Regions from separate parts of the Homo sapiens genome. Here region 1 is linked to region 2. Evidence: promoter capture Hi-C in human tissues and cell types (Jung and others, 2019). All regions are on one chromosome and are shown on one strand. Each heading gives the region's core, a stretch centred on a gene start or on the middle of the fragment in contact. The rest is flanking DNA. Distances are from core to core; before and after follow the strand shown. Region 1 holds the start of PRDM7 (PR/SET domain 7). Region 2 holds the start of DBNDD1 (dysbindin domain containing 1).

Evidence for each region. Contacts are between HindIII fragments. The study calls those that stand out against the background at their distance.
Region 1: a fragment that was not itself captured here is called in contact with the fragment with the promoter of DBNDD1 in region 2 in 1 of the 25 tissues and cell types used here (pancreas).

The regions. Positions count from the first base shown.
Region 1 is chr16:90,070,946-90,077,725 of GRCh38, forward strand. PRDM7 (PR/SET domain 7) reads right to left here and starts at 6,386. Exons shown (of 11, transcript NM_001098173.2): 1 at 6,281-6,386; 2 at 4,897-5,050; 3 at 4,406-4,529; 4 at 3,971-4,078. The coding sequence starts at 4,965. RefSeq lists a silencer at 6,368-6,497. The HindIII fragment of the contact is 7,666 bases long and covers 1-6,780 here.
Region 2 is chr16:90,017,972-90,025,565 of GRCh38, forward strand. DBNDD1 (dysbindin domain containing 1) reads right to left here and starts at 1,485. Exons shown (of 4, transcript NM_001042610.3): 1 at 1,340-1,485. The coding sequence starts at 1,370. It overlaps DRC4 (dynein regulatory complex subunit 4), which reads left to right and starts at 4,709. Exons shown (of 11, transcript NM_001481.3): 1 at 4,709-4,753. The coding sequence starts at 4,751. RefSeq lists silencers at 1,604-1,743, 2,490-2,784. The HindIII fragment of the contact is 9,907 bases long and covers 1-7,432 here.

The DNA.
Region 1 (6,780 bases), core at 1,785-4,284, 55 kb after region 2:
AGGGAAATGAAAATTAAAACCACAATGAGATATCACCTTATCCTGTTATGATAGCCTCTGTCAAAAAACCAGAAAATAGCAATGTTGGCGAAGATGTGGAGAAATTAGAACACTTGCTTATTGTTGGTGGGTAGCTTAGTCTGTTTTCTGCTGCTTTCCTAGAATGCAAGAGAGTGGGAAATTTATGTGTTTGTTTGTTTTTTTGAGATGGAGTCTCGTTCTGTTGCCCAGGCTGGAGTGCAGTGGTGTGATCTCGGCTCACTGCAACCTCTGTCTCCCGGGTTCAAGTGATTCTTCTACCTCAACCTCCCAAGTAGCTGGTAATACAGGTGCATGCCACCATGCCTGGCTAATTTTGTATTTTTAGTAGAGATGGGGTTTTGCCAAGCTGGCGAGGCTGGTCTCGAACTCCTGACCTTGTGATCTGCCTGCCTTGGCCTACCAAAGTGCTGGGATTACAGGCGTGAGCCACTGTGCCTGGCCCAGAGTGGGTAATTTATAAAGAAAATAATTATTTGGCTTGTGGTTCTGGAGGCTGGGAAGTTGAAGAGCATGGCACTGGCATCTTGCAAGGGTCTTCAAGCTGCATCATGACATGGTAGAAGGGTAAGTGTGCATGTGAGACAGAGAGAAAGACAGGGAAGGGCCCAACTCATCCTTTTCATCGGAACCCACTCCTGCAATAACTAACCCACTCCTGTGATAATGGCATTAATCCATTCATGAGGTTGGAGCTATCATTACCAAATCACCTCTTAAAGGCTCCACCTCTTAATACTGTTACAATGGCAATTAAGTTTCCAATACATGAACTTCCACACATTCAAACCATAGTAGTGGGAATGTAAAATGGTGCAGACACTGTAAAAAAACAGTATGGCGCTTCCACAAAAAATTAAAACCAGAACTACCTTCTGATCCAGAAATTCCACTTCTGGGTATATAATATATTAAAAAGAATTAAAGGCTGGGCGCGGTGGCTCATGCCTGTAATCCCAGCACTTCGGGAGGCCGCGGCAGGCGGATCATGAGGTCAGGAGATCGAGCCCATGAGGCAGGCGGATCATGAGGTCAGGAGATCGAGACCATCCTGGCTAACATGGTGAAACCCCGTCTCTACTAAAAATACAAAAAAATTAGCCTGGCGTGGTGGCAGGCGCTTGTAGTCCCAGCTACTTGGGATGCTGAGGCGGGAGAATGGCGTGAACCCGGGAGTCAGAGCTTGCAGTGAGCCGAGATTGCGCCACTGCACTCCAGCCTGGGCGACAGAGCGAGACTCCATCTCAAAAAAAAAAAAAAAGAATTAAAAACGATCTCAAAGAGATATTTGCACACTGATAGTTATTACAGCATTATTCACAATAGACAAGAGGCGAAGCAACCTAACATCCATTGACAAATGAATGGATTTTCAAAATGTGGTATATACATGCAGTAGAATATTATTCAGCCTTAAAAAAGAAGAAAATCTTGTCACATGCTGTGACATGGGTGAATCTTGGGAACATTCTGCTAAGTGATTAAATCAGCCAGTCACAAAAAGACAAATGTTTCATGGCTGATTCCACGTATATGAGGTATCTAAAGTAACCAAATTCATAGAAACAGAATTGCAGTTGCCAGGAGCTGGAGGGAGGAAGAAATGGAGTGTTATTGTTCAATGGGTTAGGGTTTTAGTCATGCAAGATAAAGAGTTCTAGGGATCTATTGCACAACAGTGTGCATACAGTTAATAAAGTTGTACGCTTAAAAATTGTTAGAAGAGTAAATATATGTTGTTTGATTTCCACAATAAAAAATAAATTGACTTAAATTGGGGATTTTAACTGAGTTCAGATAAAGATGTATAGATGTGTGGTAAACCACGGGAGATAGATTCCCTCTAAAGAGACATTCTTTTCATGTCAAAACATTTGCAGAAAAGCAAACGCTGGCCTTTCATTCCTCTTACATTACATTAAGGTCTTAAGGAATCTCAAATCCACAGATGGGGAAATCGTAGACCCAATCCAAGTTGCTTTCTCCAGTTTGGGCAGATTGACTGTTTTTACTTCTAAACTCTCCTAACCAAGCAGTAGAAGAGGAAATGAGCTTTGCACTTCTATTTTATAATTATGGTACATTATTTTATCTACTTGATGCTGTCTCTGGTCAGTGACATATGGGAAAGATCAGGGCAACTAAACAGCTCTCTCAAACCCGCTCCAGAATCGAGACAAAGAAGTAGATACATTTTGGTATAAGAGGATCATATAGTATGATGAAATGTACATAAATGATGTATCTTTACTTAATATTATTTCTTCTAAGACATTTAACTCAATAACTATTATGAGATTGGTGTTAGAAAGCTTTTTTGTGGATTTGCAGTTTAATTGTTTTCTTTACTTGTTCTGTGATTTATTAACATTGTTTAGCAAAAACAATGTTTTCTTTTTTTTAAAAAAAGAATGACAATTTTTTTTTTTTTTTGAGATGGAGTCTCGCTCTGTCGCCCAGGCCGGAGTGCAGTGGTGCTATCTCAGCTCACTGCAAGCTCCGCCTCCCGGGTTCATGCCATTCTCCTGCCTCAGCCTCCTGAGTAGCTGGGACTACAGGTGCCCGCCACCGTGCCTGGCTAATTTTTTGTATTTTTAGTAGAGATGGGGTTTCACCGTGTTAGCCAGGATGGTCTTGATCTCCTGACCTCATGATTCGCCTGCCTCGGCCTCCCAAAGTGCTGGGATTACATTGTGCTTGTTTGTTGAACATTTATGTTTTTGAGGGAAGACTCTTTTTCCTTTGTTAAATTCTGAAATGTAGCTGAGACCTAAACCGAGGCCGGTTTCAGGAGGTCACTTTTTTTTCCCCCCGAGACGGAGTCTTCTCATTCTGTTGCCCAGGCTGGAGGGTGGTGGCACGATTTCGGCTCACTGCCACCTCCACCTCCTGGGTTCAAGCTATTTCCCAGCTTCAGCCTCTTGAGTAGCTGGGATTATAAGCACCCATCACCATGCCCAGCTATCTTTTTTGGCATTTTTAATAGAGATGGGGTTTCACCATGTTGGCTAGGCTTGTCTCAAACTCCAGACTTCAAGTGATATGGTTGCCTCAGCCTCCCAAAGTGCTGGGATTACAGGTGTGAGCCACCATGCCTGGCCAGGAGGTCACTTCTAAATCTTACTGGGGGCTATGCACGGTGGCTCATGCCTGTAATCCCAGCACTTTGGGAAGCTGAGGTGGGAGGAACACTTGAGCCCAGGAGTTTCAGGCTGCAGTGAGTTATGATTGTGCCACTGCACTCCAGCCTGGGTGACAGAGTGAGACCTTGTCTGTAATAATAGTAACAATCATCATCGTCATCATCATCATCATCATCATCATCATCATCATCATCATCCCAGCATTTTGGGAGGCCAAGGCAGGCGGATCACTTGAGGCCAGGAATTCGAGACCAGCCTGGCCAACATGGTGAAACCCCATCTCTACAAAAAATACAAAAATTAGCTGGGCAAAGTGGTGCACATCTGCAGTCCCAGCTACTCGAGAAGCTGAGGTGGGAGAATTGTTGAACCTGGGAGGTGGAGGCTGCAGTGAGCCGAGATTCTACCACTGTACTCCAGCCTGGATGACAGAGCAAGACTCTGTCTTAAAAAAAATAAAAATAGGCCAGGTGTGGTGGCTCATGGCTGTAATCCCAGCACTTTGGAAGGCCAAGGTGGGTAGATCACCTGAGGTCAGGAGTTCGAGACCAGCCTGACCAACATGGAGAAATCCCATATCTACTAAACAAAATTACAAAAAATTAGCTGAGTGTGGTGGCGCATGCCTGTAATCCCAGTTATTTGGGAGGCTGAGGCAGGAGAATCGCTTGAACCTGGGAGGCAGAGGTTGCCGTGAGCCAAGATCACGCCATTGCACTCCAGCCTGGGCAACAAGAGCGAAACTCCGTCTTTAAAAAAAAAAAAATCCTCCTTCCCTTCCCTCTTACCTTGCTGCCTAGGTGTCCATTCTTCATCGGAATCTTCTGTGTCATCCACCTGGAGTTTGATGGCCTGCCTTCGGTGACACATGAAAGCTGGTCGAGTGGCTCTGAGACCTGAAAAGAAGCAAAAAATTTTGCTCTGAAACGGAAGAGCTGGGATGAGGAACAAAGGGCAGTGGCAATGGAAAGCACCACAAAGCCAGTGCTGCTCAGTCTGATGAGCTGGGAGAGTCTTGAACAAGGTCAAGATGTGACCTCTGCATGGTCAGTATCCACACACAACCCTGCACTGACGCAAAAGAACAATATTTCCCTCCAGATTTGTCTCCGTGCAAAAGGGAATTGTGGGCAGATGCCGCCACCTGATAATTAAAATAATATAGGGACCAAAGACCTGTTTTATATCGCCCAGGCTGGTCTGTGCCCAGCACTTCCTGTTACCTACAGTAATCAGTGCATTATAGTTCATTTTCACATTCCTATAGCGAGTTTTCTCCCAGTCTCCCATTTCTGCCCATTCTTCCTTGGTGAAGTATATGGAAATGTCTTTGAAGGCATCTTTGACCTAGAGGAAGTAACAGATTCCATCAGTGATTTACTAATACACATCGAGCTGGTCCTTTTCCTCTACCCTGCGTGTAGGGCATAGCCTGGGGCCTCTGGGAGTCTCTGTGAAACATAAAGACCTTCCCTCCTTCTCCAGATTGTGTCCTGTTTAACTGAGCAGACACTGAGCATTTTCCTAGCTCTCTGCTGACACAGAGCAGTCGCTGATGCTAGTGTTCTTTTCTCCCCCATGTCCTGGCCAGGACCAGCTGCCCCCATTCCATGCACATTCAGACAGAGTCACCCAAGGGTACAGGCCAGGAGTCTGCAGCACTCCAGAGATCAGCTCCTGCTGGGAGTCTGGCTTCGCCTCCCCGACTTCTCACCATGGGCTTCCGCTCTGTTCTCTCTGTGTCTCCTTCTGGGCTCTCCTCTTGGGACCTTTCAGGGCTCATGGTGCTGGGACTGTCTAGAAGGCCCTGCTCCAATTCTGAGTGTGGGAAGGGCCCCTGAGTCTCCCAGCTCCTAGGCCAAAGGCTCCTGTGGAAGGAGAAGGTGCTGAGATGGGGCAACAGCCCTGAGCACTACCCAGAACAAGGCTCTGTCTTCTCCATCTGGCTGGGGTGTTCAGAGCAGGAAGACTGGGTTCCTGGTGAGGTCTCGAGCACCCCAGGGAGGTCTGGGGGTACTGATGGGATGGGAAGGCCTCCACTGGCCATGAGCTGCCACCTAATGTAAGCTGGATTTTGTTCTTTTAGTTCCCCTGCAGCTTGGCTCATTTGGAGAAGGGTGGCACAGGTGCCTGGAGGGTTGTAGCTACCGGTGTTTGAGGGGAGTCCTGAGGTGTGAGAGCCAGAGGAGTCTCAAGGAGACCTTGAGGCCCCCTGACTGCTGGGACTTGGGTCACACTGAGGAGCAGGGTTCTGTTTTAGCGAGGCAAAATGAACATTTTGCATAGACAGGATTTGGGGATCTCTACCTGGGGATTCTAGAAAAATCCAGGAGTAAAGCAGTCTGCATCTCTAAGGGGAAGCTATCTCTCAGGTTGAGATTTGGGGTCCCTCAGGCTGAGGGGATTTGAGATGTCTTAGACTGAAGAAATTGGGGTTTCTCAGGTTGAGGGAATTTGGAGTATCTTGAGCTGAGGAGCTTTGGTATCCCTCAGGCTGATAGTATTTGTGGTTTTTCAGGATGAGATTAGGGGTCTTTTAGGCTGAAGAGATCTGGGGTGCTCTAGTTGACAGGATTTGAGATTCATCAGGTTAAGGGGATTTGGGGTTCCTCGGGATGAAAGGATTTGGGATATTTGAGGCTGAGGAAATTCTGGGTCTCGGGTAAAGGAGATTTGGGTCTCTCATTAATGGGTTTTAGGGTGTTTGACACTGAGGTTATTTGGTCCTTGAAGCTGACGGGGTTGAGTTTTCAGGCTATTTAGGTTATCTGTGGTTGGGGAAATCTGGTCTCTCTGAGATATTTAGGGTTCCTCAGGCTGAGGTATTTGGGGTGCCTTAGGGTGAGGGAAATTGTGGCTCCTCAGGCTCAGAATATTTGGGGATCTAAGCATTAGGAGATTCGATGTTCCTCTGGGTGAAGGGATTTGGGGTCTCTGAAGCTGAGGTACTTTGGGGGTTTCATGCTGAGGGGATTTTAAATCCCTCAAGGTGGCAGGATTTGGGGTCTTTTGAGGCTGAGAGGATTTGGAGCTTCTCAGGGTGAGGGGATCTGGGGTCTCCTAGGCTAAAATTTGAAGGTCTTGGGATGAGGGTTTACAAGGGTTTCACGCTGCACGACAAAGGCTCCCCATGCTCTTCACAGTCTCCCGTTTTCTCCTGCCGCGGTGTTCACCCTGGCCGGGCGTCTTCTCGGAGCCGCTCAGGAGGTGAGACGCGGTGGGTGCCAGCCTGTAGTGCTGCCAGCCAATCAGCGTTGAGACCAAGGCGAGCCCGCCAATCGGCAGTCAGGAGGTGCTAAAGGGGCGGGGAGTAGGGCGGAGCCTTGCCTGTCAGTCATGGGCACAACCCGGTTTTGGGCTCAGGAGGTCGGGGAGGGGCCTGGCTTTTCCCGCCCCTGGGGAAGGTCCCGCCCCTGGGGAAGGTCCTGCCCCACCCCGCTGGGATTGCGTGCAACCATCTGGAATCCTCCCGCGCACAGGCGCAGTTTCGCGGTTTTATTACTTGGTTTTCCCCAACGCCGGTGTTTCCGACTGAGCCGGGAGTCGGGGCTGCTCCTCACTTCCCTCCTCAGGCCTGGGTCTTCTGAGGGGACACTGT
Region 2 (7,594 bases), core at 235-2,734:
TTAAGCTGCTGGGAAGTCCTCCTTTTTTCCCAAAGGAGGAGGGAAAACATATTAACCTCCACTCCCAAATGCCTTGGGCTCCCACAGCCCTGCAGGGGAAGCAGAACTGTCTCCACTGACAGAAATGGAAATTGAGGCTCACAGGGGCCTGACTGCCCACAGTTCACAGCTGGAAACAGCTCGGAGACCCCCAAGCCCTCACTCCCAACCTCCAGGCTTCCTATGTCCACAAAGCTGCTACTGGGAATACCCAGGAGCCTGGGACTATCAGTGTTAAGAAAGAGCTCTGGTCCCTCCCACAAATGACAAATCAAAACCCAAACCCACCAGCCCTGGGGCATTTGTCCCTATACCTTGGACTGCAGATACACAGGGTGGGTGGACCTGCTCCTCCCGGGGACAGCCCTTCGGGCTCCAGAGGATGCCACTGTGTGCGGCTGGGGGACTGAGAGGTTCCCATGTAGTTCCAGAGCGGCAGGCTGGCCTGCCTGTGCCCTCAGGCACCTGCTGGCTCCCTGGAATGGGAGCTCTAGGAAACCAGGAGGTGGTGGGCTTGGCTGGGCAGGTGGAGGAGTCTGCAGTTTGCATCCAAGTTCCTACCTAGGCAAATGGAACCCCGAAAGCCCTTTTGGAAAAGTCTCTGATCGGGAAGGGGGGAGGTTCTGAGAGCTTTCTTCCCGTTACCGACTCCAAGGTCCTGCAGTAGGGCCTCCACCATCAGGGCAGGGAGCGCTCCACGCGCACCTACCCTCCCCGATGAGCGTGCGCCTGGGCCACTCCCGGACCAGCCACCCTTGCAGCTCTGGAGTCCCCGGCAGGCCGCGCCCGTGCATGCCCCACATCCCCAAGACCCATCTCAGCCCCTCGCCCCTGGCAGGATCCCTGCCCGCGAGTCTACGGCCCTCGCCCCCCGGGACTCGCGGCTGGGCGAACAAAGCGGACGCGCTTGCAAGCGGCCAGCGTCGCCCTCACGCCCCACCGACAGGGACCCCAAACTCCAGCCCCGGAACCCCCCTCCCCCGCTCCCCGGGTCACCGGCTGGCTTGGCTGGGAGGGGGCTCAGGACGAAACTCCGGGCCACCCACCAAGGAGCGTGCCGGGCACGGCTTCCCGGGCCGGGAGCGCAGAGAACAAGGGGGCGGAGACTCGGTCCGTGTGCCCCCAGCCCCGCGCGGGGACCGCGCCCGGGAGGTGCCCCTGGCCCGCCGGACGACCCCGAGCTGCCAAAGGGGTCTTCGCGACTCCCGGGAGCGGCGAAGGGTGAGCCCTGGGGGGAGGGGCTGCGGCTCGCTGCGGGGAAGCGCTGCGCGGGGGTCTCGGGGGCTGGGGCTGAACTCACCTCCGGTGCCGGCGCCCTCCGGGGGCTCCATGCGGCCGGTGCGGTCTGGGAGGGGCACGGGCGACGGCGGCGTCGCCTGGCCCGGGCGCCCCAACAGCTGCGGCAGCGACTCGGCCCCGGCTCCGGGCGCAGCGCATCGGGGCAGCAACCGGGGGGCCGCGGCGGCAGGGAGGAGCCCGCGGGGCGGGGCGGGGCGCGCAGCTGCTCCCGGGCCCCGGCCCCCTCCCGGCGCCCCCCCAGCCGCAGGACAGGTGCGGCCCCGCCCCGGCCCGCGCGCGCCCCCTGCTGGCCCCTGGCCCAGCGGACCCCTCCCCCGCCGACCCTTCCCTCGCGGGCCGCGCCCCGCCGCGGACACCACCGGGACCTGGCTGCGCCCTCCCGACCCCGGCCGGGCGTCCGGGGCTCCTGCGCACTCACTTGGCGGCCGCGCCCGCTGGCGTCCTCTTGTTCTCTTCCAGGTACTTGCGTGTGGGGCGCCGACTGTGTGCGGGCGCCCCTCGGGGCTGGCGAGGGGCACAGGAGGGGCCTGACTCGCGCTGGGTAATGACAGACTCACAGAGCGCCCTGGATGGCGCGAATTAACGCGGGGGGCGGGTGGGGGCGAGGGCGTGTGCTTGGGAGGCTGGAAGGGGCGGGATGGGGGATGGGAGGTAAGGAGAGGGCGGCGGGCCCGGGCTGCAGAGAGCGCCAAGGCAGTTTCGATGAAACTGACCCCCATGTCCCTATCGCCCAGATTCAGCGATTGCCAGCTCCTGGCCTGGGCCACTGCTTCTCTGTCCTCATTCACTTCCCTCCACTGCTGGGTCATTTTGAAGCAAATTATATACACATTAGATCATTGCATTTGTAAGTACTTCAATATTTATCTCTCAAAGAAAGTCCGTTTGCAGGAGCATTGACTCATGCCTGTAATCCCAGCCCTTTGGGAGGCTGAGGTGGGAGCACAGCTTGAGCTCAGGAGTCCAAGGCTGCCGTGAGCTATGATTGTATGTCTCAAAAAAAAAAAAGAAAAGAAAAGAAAAGAAAAAGTCTAGTCTTCATAAACACTCTTGTTAACCCAGCATCCAGGCCTTCACTGAGTTGATGCCGTGGCCTGAGGCGGTTTACCTGGTGGATAGTGGGTGGCAGGAAGCATCAGACATCAGACAGAGGGCAGTCGGTTTGTTTGTATTAACATTTGCTCTGGGATTTTGCAGGAAACTCAGATGCCATTTATCTGGGTTTCTGAGCTGCACAGCTTGACACTGAATGAAAGTATCTTAAGCCACATATGTGAAGAAAAGGCTCTTTTCTAAAAATCTGAACTCGAATTCAATATGAAAAGAACAGGTCGCAGTGGGCCCTGTCGGGATCCCAGGGAGCCGCAATTCAGGGCTCCCTGAATGATTCATCTCTGCAGCCCACACCGACAGACCAGGATTGCTCTTAGCTTGTGAAAAATGAGTACCCTGTCTAGGCTATCCTGAGCTAACCCTCCTATTCTTGCCCTTTTTGCTGAAAGGAATTATTGTTAATACAGCTATTTAATTCAGGACACTCATCCAGACTTCTGAAGCAAAAAGCCAATCAGCATGAAGCTGCTAGCATATTGGTTTTGTGAAGTAAGTGTTAAATTATAATAATTACCCCCACTGTGCTCTCCAGCGTCACTGTCTGACCACCCTGTCCCAGGGGGAGGAGGCCCCTCTCAGGCCAAGGGAGTCTGGCACAGTGATGCTGGCTCCTGGTTGCCCAGGCACAGTGACCAGCCAGACTTCACAGAGGCCTCAGGGCTTACTATAAATAAATCACTGCTTTGTGCAAGCTGAGCCAATGCAGTTCTTCCAACTGGCTGCTCCTCTCCAAGAACAATCAGGACTTAGGTGGGCAAACAGGAAGTCTCTCATCACAGTGGTTCTCAGATTCCCACCACTGTGTGGGTGCCTGAGGCCTGAGCAAACCCAGCTCATGTGGCAACTTCCTCCCCCAGCTGGACAGGAAGACCTAGGTCCACCAGGCCTTCTTTCATTTCTCACACTTTGCCCCCAGCACAACTTTCTACGAGCATGGATTCTGTACTCTTCATCCCCAGACACATGGGAGAACAAGATCTGCTACAAGACCTTTTCTTTTTTTTTTTGAGACAGGGTCTCAGGTCTCATTCTGTTACCTAGGCTGGAGTGAAGTGGTGTGATCTTGGCTCACTGCAACCTCCACCTCCAGGGCTCAAACGATTCTCCCACCTCAACCTCCCAAGTAGATGACCACTTTTTAAGAAGATGTTAAAGATGAGAGCTTAGGGCTGGGCGTGGGGCTCACGTGCTCCCAGCACTTTGGGAGGCCGAGGCAGGAGGATCACTTGAGGCCAGGAGTTTGAGACCACTCTGGGCAATAAAGCAAGACCCCGTCTCTATTAAAAACTTAAAAAAAAAAGCTGGGTATGGTGTCTCACACCTGTAGTCCTGGCTTCTCAGGAGGCTGAGGTGGGAGGATTGCTTGAGCCCAGGAGGTCGAGGCTGCAGTGAGTTGTGATCACAGCCTAGGCGACAGAAGGAGACCCTGTCTCCAAAAAAAAAAAAAAAAAAAAGCACCTGTTTATGACAAACTCAGCTTTCTGGGTGACATAGATGGTTGTATGTAGGTAACAGGGTGGTTTCACGGATGGCAGATTCATTTTAGAAATTGTAAAATGGCTAGCAGTTTTCAGAACAAGAGATTAGTTAGAAAAGGAAAGTGGCAGCTGTTTGTTTTCTGCAGGGCCTGTCGGGAAGCCTCTGGTTTCTTTTCATCCGTGAGGAGTGGGGAGGAGGCCTCTTCAGGAAGAGCAGTTTATTTTTGTGAAAGGAATACTTACTGATTTCAAACATTTGGAACTAAACTGGAACGTATTTTTCTTTCCGATTTCTGCGTTTTTGAGGTGTGTGTAAACCCACCAGCGCAGCAGCTGGGAGGGCCCTTCAAAGGTGGGCGGGTGGGGTGAGTGAGGCCCAGGGGATAGAGTGTTTGCCCAGATTTGAATCTCATTTGGGGAAAGTTTCAGAGGCTTGGGTGGCTGATTGATCATTCCTTCAATGGTCCTTCATCAGCACGTCTTTACTGAGCACGTGCTGTGTGCTGTTCTAGGCGCTGAAGGATAGAAGTGAAGGGTTCCCCCCTCGTGGAGCTTAGGTTCCAGCAATAAGCAAAACATGCCCTGCAGCGAAAGGCTTCTGGGCTGCCGGCGACATTTTCCCAACGTTCACAACCGGGTTCCTTCCGGACGCCCGTCTCTAGGGACGCACTCCCGCCTTTGGCAGGGCCGCTGCCCGGCGGAGTCTCGCGAGGATCTTGTGACTTATCGCGGCATCGCCCAGCGGTTGCCGGGAAACGGCGTGGCTTCCGGGGGCGGGCGCCCTGGTCCCGGAGTCGCCGCTGGGCCTGTCCGCTGGCGTCATGGTGAGCAGGGGCGGGAGCGGGGCTGGGGTCCTCGGCAGGGGCCCGGAGACCTCGGGGCAGGGAGGCCTCGGTACACGGAGACCCTGGGAATGGGAGGCCTGGAGCGCTGGGTTTCTGGAATTGAGAGCTCGGTGCTCTTGTGGGGGTCTCCGTGGGGCAAACTCAGGATGCTCCCGGCCCCGGGGCCTGGCAGCACTCGGGACTGAGACCTGGGCTGTCCAGAGCCCTGTGCTCACAGGGGTGGTCATAGAACGCCCAGGGCCCGGGGTCGGCGGCGCACGGTCCCCAGAAGAGTGAACATGCGTCAAGGGGACTCTCATCCTGGAATGGCAGACTCGGTCTGTTGGATCCCTGGGACCTAGGGTTTCAGCTCACGAGGCTTTGCAGAGCACCAGGGTCCCCATGGAATAGAGCCGGAGGCAGGAATTACCCTAAGACCTTTGGTCTCCCGGATGGAGAGCCTGGGGCACACCAGAGTGGCTAGAGATCCCTCTACACCAAGGAGGCCCGGACAGGTCCAGTGCCCTTGGAGTGCCCAGGGCACAACCTTGGGATACAGGAACCACTGTTCCCTTGGAAAGCCTGGCAGGAGTCAGGCCCAGACCGAGAAGAGGAAGGCGGAGCTCGTGGCCTCATCAGCTCCATGTCTGTCTTTCTCTTGTAAAGGGCTCTCCCTTTGTGGTACAGGAATTGTCAGTAACTCAATTTCTGGGCAGGTGTGGCAGGGTGGGTTTCAGCTGGTGGGGGGAGGAAAGCTCTGGGAGCCCCACCAAGTCCCTGCAGCTGGCTGTGAAGGTCCCAAATGCTAAGTAATGCTGAACCTTCCTCCACTGCCTTCAGGGCTTTGTGATGAGGTAGCCTTCTTGGAGTGGAGGGATTAAAAAGAGAGCAGTACATTACGAATTAAATTTAAGTAGATGGGTTTTCTGACCCAGGAAGGGTCTTCTGAAAACCGACTATGAAAGAAACTACCAAACTAGGCCAGGAGTCTGGGCGCGGTGGCTCACGCCTGTAATCCCATCACTTTGGGAGGCCGAGGCAGGCGGATCATGAGGTCAGGAGATCCAGACCATCCTGGCCAACATGGTGAAAATCCATATCTATTAAACATACAAAAATTAGCTGGGTGTGGTGGCGTGTGCCTGTAGTTCCAGCTACTCGGGAGGCTGAGGCAGGAGAATCACTTGGACCTGGGAGGCGGAGGTTGCAGCGAGCCGAGATCGCACCACCGCACTCCAGCCTGGCAACACGTCTCTTAAAAAAAAAAAAAAAAAGCAGGGTGTAGTGGCTGACGCCTGTAAACCCAGCACTTTAGGAGTCCAAGGTGGGTGGATCACTTGAGGCCAGGAGTTGGAGACCAGCCTGGCCAACATGGTGAAACCCTGTCTTTACTAAAAATACACACACACACACACTCACACACACACACACACAAAATTAGCCGGGTGTGGTGGTACGCACCTATAGTCCCAGCTACTTGGGAGGCTGAGGCAGGAGAATTTCTTGAACCTGGAAGGTAGAGGTTGTGTAGTGGGATTTTTAAGGAATTAGAGAGACCGATGGGGTTCAGGAGGATATTTATTAATTATTTAGGTGCACCGGCCCAGTCAGATTAAAATCCAAAGGACTGAGCCCTGAACAAAGAGTTAAGTTACCTTTTAAGCTTTTCGTGGGGCAGAGGGAGATCTGTGCAGGGGGAAGCATGCTTCAGATGTGAGAAATAAAGGCAGTTGTTCAGTTGAAACATGCATTACATCATTTCTTACTTTTTAAGGAAAAACATGTTTTGCGACTTGAGTTTATCTGCCTAGTGACCTTGCAGCCGCACAGCTACAGAATCAGGGTCTTCACAATGCCTGGGAAGGGAGGAGAGACAAGGCTCACTAGCCGCAGAAAAACAGGCAGTTAATTTTTAAAGGACTCCAGCTCTTTCTCTTTTTCAGGGGGAGTTGGGTTTTCTTATATATAACTGAGTTTCTGCTTACACACTTTTTAATTTCTTTTAATTCCTGTTCCAGTTGCAGTGAGCCAGGATTGCACCACTGCACTCCAGCCTGGGTGACAGAGCAAGACTCCATCTCAAAAAAAACAAAAACAAAAACAAAAAACAAAAAAATGCAACAGCAAACACAACAGCAAACACTAAACACAACCAAACTACTTCTGTTTCTGTTAGGTTGTGGGAATATGGGCCTTGGTCTGTTGGATCCTTGGACCAAGGAATATGGGTGATATTTCTGTTTTCTTCTCATCAGTGTTTTCTAAAATTTCCACATAATATTTTCTCTCTCTCTTTTTTTTTTTTTTTTTGAGGTAGAGTCTTACCCTGTCACCCAGGCTGGAGTGCAGTGGCATGATCTTGGCTCACTGCAACCTCTGCCACCTGGGTTCAAGCGATTCTCCTGCCTCGGCCTCCCGAGTACCTGGGACTACAGGTGCCCGCCACCACGCCTGGCTAATTTTTTTGTATTTTTAGTAGAGACAGGGTTTCACCATGTTGGCCAGGCTGGTCTTGAACTGCTGACCTCAAGTGATCCGCCCGCCTCAGCCTCCCAAAGTGCTGGGATGACAGGTGTGAGCCACTGTGCCTGGCTCCACCTAATGTTTTCATTCAGGACTAAATGAAACATAAATGAAGATAAATGGGCCAGTCGCGGTGGCTCACGCCTGTAATCCCAGCACTTTGGGAGGCTTAGGTGGGCAGATCACGGGTCAGGAGTTCGAGTACAGCCTGGCCAACATAGTGAAACCCCGTCTCTACTAAAAATACAAAAAATTAGCCGGACGTGGTGGTGGGCACCTGTAATCCCAGCTACTCAGGAGGCTGAGGCAGGAGAATGG